2 separate regions of the Homo sapiens genome follow, and region 2 is linked to region 1. The links are contacts of gene promoters, found by promoter capture Hi-C in blood cells and fetal thymus (Javierre and others, 2016). All regions are on one chromosome and are shown on one strand. The core of a region is centred on a gene start or on the middle of the fragment in contact, and the rest is flanking DNA. Distances in the headings are between cores, read along the strand shown.

Region 1 (3,372 bases), core at 651-3,150:
GTGAGGGCAGAATTAAAATGCAGTAAAACATGCAGATTGGGTGCCTAGCACAAATCTGGCTCAATTTCCTTCATAGAGGCATTAAGACCCCCCTGAAGCTGCCATAGTGTGAGCACAGTCATGGTGGAGTAAGGGACGACTAGGGCATTGCTCAGATATCTGTAGATAATGACACATTTTGCTTTGGATTGAGACTGTCTCCAAAGCTGTTAGCTTCATGATTTGTTTGCATGATTATAATTATGCAAACCAGATTGGAAAAAATAATTGAGGAGACATGTAGCTTTGTTTCCTTCAGCATTCTTTTACTGCAAATTAAATACCTTGAATAGTAGTTAAGACAGGATTGGAAACTTGGCGGGGAAGATGCAGAAGGGTGAATAGCATTTATTGAGTTTCTGCTATGAACTAGGAACTGTGTTTAGCACATGTGTGTATTGTTCTGTTTTCACAGTAGCCATATTCTTATTATTCTTGTTCACTTTTTATAGATGAGGAAACTGAGGCTTGAAGAGGATTATGGATTATCTGAGGTCATTTAACTAAGATACAAGAAAATTGGGATTTGACCTCAAACTTATGTTTTTTACATTATTTTGTGATAACTTGGTACTAGGATCTGAACCACCTGGTTCTGTAATTTATGATGCCTGTGGAGAGTGCATGTTCATAGTAGCCAGAAGACAGTAACATGGCAAGGGGGAAAGGAAAAGGAATTATCTTTGTCTCACCCCAAACAATAATGATACTGACATTTTATTGTGCACGGTGGTTTTCAAAACACTTCATACGAATTTCCCATTTTATAGCTGGGACCACAGAGCCTCAGGGTTTCATTCAAGGCCTCACAGCCAATAAATAGCAAAACTGGGACTCAAACCCAGAATTTCTGACTAAATTCAGTTTTATTACTCCAAGAACCTCTCCCACATAGTTGGCCACATGGACAGAGGAAGTGGTTGAGTTTAAGTGTGAGTGCTCTGTGCAGGCTGGATGGTCTTCTTATCCTCAAGCATCTGTGGATGTCATTGAAGAGCCTGACTTCCTAATCACTTCCCAGGATCACCAGGCAATACGTGATTACTGACTGACTGAATCAATATACACTTGGATCTTGGTTTGCAAACTTTCACTTGGTGTCCCGCATCACACAGGTCCAGAAACAGCGAAACTTTTCTCATACCTCTCAACCTCTGGGTGTTCATGTAGACAAGGGACAGTTGATGGTTATACAAACCATCATGGTTATAAAAAATCTCTATTCGGTGCCTAGTTATTGTGTATTTTTGGTGTGGCATGGGAAGAAAAGAGCCAAGATATTTTGAAAATCGACACCTCTTTTGCAGTATCCGAGGCCAATTACTTTCTGTAAGAGGAGGTCGATTTCCAATTAGCATTTAAGGTCATTTAAGACCTTTGCAGTCTCCCCTGCACTAGTTGGGGCTCTTTCTGGGAAAGAGGGAAACTACAAGAGAACTACAAGGCTGGCATTGAGGGGCTCTTGCAGTCTCTAAACCCACCATCCCTTTCATTGTTGAACTGGGGTGGTGAGCCTGCACAAGCATGGGTGGTAGCTGACTTCCCTTGGGCAGGTCCAGAACAGGGAGCAGCATTCTGCAGAAGGTCCTTTTCCAGATTGAGAAACCCAAACCCTGATCTCCTCTTTTGATGATTTTACAAAAATCAAATTGCATGACAGATGCCCAGATAAACAGAAGTTTGCAATCAAAGCAAGTTCTGGGATGGAGCTGATTAGTAGATTTTTAATGGCTATTAGCTTGATAATCACGCACCAGGAATAGCTCCCAGGCAGACCAAACCCACGTATAAGTGGATCCACACCCATGTACACAACACCTAGTTGGCAGGTATATAAGGGGACCCTGAAAGCCTCCCAGCAGCACAGTTGAGTCTCCAGCCTTGACTCTTCTCAAGAGCCTGTGACTTTCCTCCCTGGACAAAGGCATCATGAGTTGTCAGATCTCTTGCAAATCTCGAGGAAGAGGAGGAGGTGGAGGAGGATTCCGGGGCTTCAGCAGCGGCTCAGCTGTGGTGTCTGGTGGAAGCCGGAGATCAACTTCCAGCTTCTCCTGCTTGAGCCGCCATGGTGGTGGTGGCGGGGGCTTCGGTGGAGGCGGCTTTGGCAGTCGGAGTCTTGTTGGCCTTGGAGGGACCAAGAGCATCTCCATTAGTGTGGCTGGAGGAGGTGGTGGCTTTGGCGCCGCTGGTGGATTTGGTGGCAGAGGAGGTGGTTTTGGAGGCGGCAGCAGCTTTGGAGGTGGCAGCGGCTTCAGTGGTGGTGGTTTCGGTGGAGGCGGCTTTGGTGGAGGCCGCTTTGGAGGTTTTGGGGGCCCTGGTGGTGTTGGAGGTTTAGGGGGTCCTGGTGGCTTTGGGCCTGGAGGATACCCTGGTGGCATCCACGAAGTCTCTGTCAACCAGAGCCTCCTGCAGCCTCTCAACGTGAAAGTTGACCCAGAGATCCAGAATGTGAAGGCCCAAGAGCGTGAGCAGATCAAAACTCTCAACAACAAATTTGCCTCCTTCATTGACAAGGTGACTCTGGAGAAGACGGCTCCCACTGATGCTCAGGCCACTTCACTTCCAGAGCCAACCAAAAAGAAAATGGCACAGATTTGTATTTCTTAGGAGCCAGTGGTGTACCGCAGTAGCCTGGGTCATTTGCGGTTTCCAGATGGAAAAGACGCCAGCTTTGTGGGTTACATTTCCCATAACAGCCTGCACTTAGGAAGCATTTGTCCCTTTGACCTTATTGTTACAGTCCATATAAATAATATTTATGGAAAATTCTGAAAACCATAAAAAATGGATATAGGCAAGTATTGAACTGATCCTTGGGACAGGCCACTGGAGCAGCAGGTTTTGGAAGCCATCGTCTTCTGAGATAGTGTTTCCTTCCTTAGCAGTGATTACTAAACTCTGGGAAGCTGAACCTGAAATATCTGCTTGGGAATGCAGGAAATTCCTGCCTTCAAGAGAAGCGTTCTCAGTTTTGTGATCCATAAAGTCTTTATTGGTGTCACTTCGGAGTGTTACTGGCTTTTCTCCTATTTCAAGGCAGACGAACCTGTCTTGGTTTATCTGCCTTGAAATAGGCAGGGATTTACAAGGCTCTTAAAAATCAGGCTGAGGAGCCCTGCCCTCTGGGACTCTCATACTCAGCACCCTTGCGAGCAGTGCCAGCAGATGGCTGCTTTCGGTTTTCCCCAGAATTTATGGGATCTTGGCTGGAAATTCAACCAGGATGCGGGGAGGGAAATGGTCTAGAGTATTGGGAGCAGCTGCAAACAAACCAGTGAGCAGTGAAGCAGCAAAGAGTCTCCTCTGCGTGGAGAGAGCCGGATGTAGCATTAG
Region 2 (3,372 bases), core at 562-3,061, 200 kb after region 1:
AGGCTGAGGCATGAGAATCACTTGAACCTGGGAGGCGGAGGTTGCAGTGAGCCGAGATCATGCCATTGCACTCCAGCCTGGGTGACAGAGCAAGACTCTGTGTAAAAAAAAAAAAGAAAAGAAAAAAGAAATGAAGCCCAAATTGAAAGCGGCATAAGGAGGAAAGACATTGGTAAACAGACAGTAATGGACATTTGGGAGAAATGTCCTCGAATAACTGGGAAAAGCAAACAGCTATGAAAAAGAGACTAGAGACTGTTAAAAAGAGAATCAGAAAACATAGATGTGGGAGACAAAGCAGACACAACACAATCACAATTGAAAAAGACAATATTTTTATGTTTTGTACATATGAATACATGAAATATTTTATATACATAAAACACACTCAAACACATACACACAAAACATTCATGTATTTATTTATATACCTTTCTACAATGCAGGCTCCCTCTCTATATATGCCAACTCCCTCCACCTCTTCCTCACCCATACAAACACACGTTGACACAAACACATATGCACAGACATGTCACCCATGGCCCAGGAAAAGCACAGGAAAATATCCAAGTAAAGATACAAGGATACACAAGGAACTGCTAACATTACTTCCTCCATAGATAGGAATTGGGTAACTGGGGAATGGCCTTGAGCTATATTATTTTGTTGTTTAGCATGTTTTACAAAAAATTTTTTAAAACATGTATCATGTATTCAATTTGTAAACATGTAAATAATTGTGCAAATAGTACTATTCAAAATTTAAATGGGCAATCTACTACATTTACTTCTAGAATGTTTAAATATAGACAGAATCTTAATAAGCTTCTAATTTTAATATGAAATATGAAGGTTAGAGTCTCATATTAAAGGAAACAATAGGGGTATGCAATTAGAAAAATCCCAAGAATGAAAAAGTACAATGAACAGTTAACCTGTTTTATTTAACAAATAAAAGTAAGAAATGAAGGGAGATTTTTAAATTTCAATGATTTAAAGGATATATCACTCAAATACAACGTTTATAGAGCTTATTTTGACTCTGATTGGGACACCAAAATATAAGAAATATATATCAAAAATAGGACTGCTTGAAGACTAAATAGACACTTGTTCATTTTAATTAGTATGTAAATTTTTAAGATATAAAAATAGTGTTTTGATTTTTTAAAGGACCTATTATTTAGATATTAATATTGAATTATTGATTGAAGACATAATATGACTTCTGGAATTTCCTTTCAAACAATCTAGAATGGAAGAGGAAATAGGGTTGAAGTATGAAAGAAATCAGGCTGGCCATGAGATGATCATCATGGAAGCAGGTGACAGGTATATACAGGCCCATTGCAGTGTTCTGCTTCTCTACCTGTTTAAAATTGCACCTAAAAGGTGAAACAATTATGGGGAAATTGTAATATTTCTGTTAAGGAATTCACAATACAGTGCCTGTGATCTCCAACAGCAAGGCTGGAAGAAAGTCAGACTGGGAAGAGGAGGGCACTCAGGGCATGTCGATAAACAGCCTAGCATGCAGAACCTTTGCTGAAGACAGTGACTAATTCCAACTTCATGAATTGAGAATACTCTTATTGTGCTGAGATCTCAAGTCAAAGCTGGAGGCAGGAACATTTTGCCTGACTAAAGGAAGCGAAAAATGCAATCTCGGTATTTCATAACTTTTGTAATAATGCAGGTGTGATCTCACTATTTGTAAAGCCCAGCCCTTCCCAACCTGCAAGCTCACCTTCCAGGACTGGGCCCAGCCCATGCTCTCCATATATAAGCTGCTACTGGAGTCCGATTCCTCGTCCTGCTTCTCCTCCCTCTCGCCTCCAGCCTCTCACACTCTCCTAAGCCCTCTCATCTCCTGGAACCATGGCCAGCACATCCACCACCATCAGGAGCCACAGCAGCAGCCGCCGGGGTTTCAGTGCCAACTCAGCCAGGCTCCCTGGGGTCAGCCGCTCTGGCTTCAGCAGCATCTCCGTGTCCCGCTCCAGGGGCAGTGGTGGCCTGGGTGGCGCATGTGGAGGAGCTGGCTTTGGCAGCCGCAGTCTGTATGGCCTGGGGGGCTCCAAGAGGATCTCCATTGGAGGGGGCAGCTGTGCCATCAGTGGCGGCTATGGCAGCAGAGCCGGAGGCAGCTATGGCTTTGGTGGCGCCGGGAGTGGATTTGGTTTCGGTGGTGGAGCCGGCATTGGCTTTGGTCTGGGTGGTGGAGCCGGCCTTGCTGGTGGCTTTGGGGGCCCTGGCTTCCCTGTGTGCCCCCCTGGAGGCATCCAAGAGGTCACTGTCAACCAGAGTCTCCTGACTCCCCTCAACCTGCAAATTGACCCCGCCATCCAGCGGGTGCGGGCCGAGGAGCGTGAGCAGATCAAGACCCTCAACAACAAGTTTGCCTCCTTCATCGACAAGGTGAGCCAGTGCCATGCCCTCCATCGGGCACTTCAGGGTCCCCAGACCAGAAGAGCAACACCTTCCTGCCGGAGAGACCCTAGGAGGGAGGGAGAAGGGGACTCAGCCCAGCTCTGCAGAGAGTGCAGGTGGCTCTCGGTGCACAGGAGGCAGCACAGATGGGCATCACTCCCCCATGGGATATCTGGAGTGGCCCTCACTCCTGCCTAGGGAGAGCCATAACTTTTCATAACCCTGAAGCACAGATGAGGCCATCAGAGAGTGGAGTAGGTTAATTCTCCCCTCTGAAGTGTTTAAGAGATTACAAAGCAAATGCCAGGAGTATATGGGCTGGTAAATTACACTCTGGGGTCTGGGTAAGAGGAAAAAGATTTAGAAAGAAAAGGAAAAGATAATCTGGCTGGATTAAGAAAAAAAGGGACATAGAAACAACTGTAAAACATGGATAAATGCTAATTAATTTTAAAAACAGAGAATGACCATAACATCAGAATATTTGAGAGGAGACACTAAATGGGAAAGTAGACTGAAATGTAATCATGAGTCAACATCTAATATCCCTCCTAACTAAGATCCTCTCGGTAAAAAAAACTGTGTACAATATATCAGGTAATTAGTATTTTTAAACTAGATTTGTGATTGTGCTTGGAAAAAGAAAAGAAGAAATGTTGAAACTCACTGATGATCAATAGCTTACAGTGCGAGAACACCTCAGTGGTCCGTGGGACAATTTCTCTAGTGAGACTGGTGGGGTGCAAAGGAGAAGGAGTTGGGGGAGCAGAGCTCAGCCTGAGCCTCTCTACATGCACTGTAGTAGCCCAGCACCATGGGGACCTCCCAGACCTCCAGGAAACTGGATACCAGACACTTTCTCTGCCTTCCTTTTCCTGGAAAATGACCATTTTGCTTCCCCTCCAGGTGCGGTTCCTAGAGCAGCAGAACAAGGTTCTGGAC

Evidence for each region. Contacts are between HindIII fragments. The CHiCAGO score rates a contact against its expected background, and 5 or more counts as called.
Region 2: a contact is called between the fragment with the promoter of KRT6B here and the fragment with the promoter of KRT2 in region 1, in 4 of 17 cell types (endothelial precursors, naive B cells, monocytes and 1 more). The highest score is 7.6, in endothelial precursors.

Annotation. Positions count from the first base shown.
Region 1 is chr12:52,650,739-52,654,110 of GRCh38, reverse strand. It overlaps KRT2 (keratin 2), which reads left to right and starts at 1,900. Exons shown (of 9, transcript NM_000423.3): 1 at 1,900-2,553. The coding sequence starts at 1,969. The HindIII fragment of the contact is 4,749 bases long and covers 1-3,372 here.
Region 2 is chr12:52,450,585-52,453,956 of GRCh38, reverse strand. It overlaps KRT6B (keratin 6B), which reads left to right and starts at 1,811. Exons shown (of 9, transcript NM_005555.4): 1 at 1,811-2,418; 2 at 3,337-3,372. The coding sequence starts at 1,879. The HindIII fragment of the contact is 8,192 bases long and covers 828-3,372 here.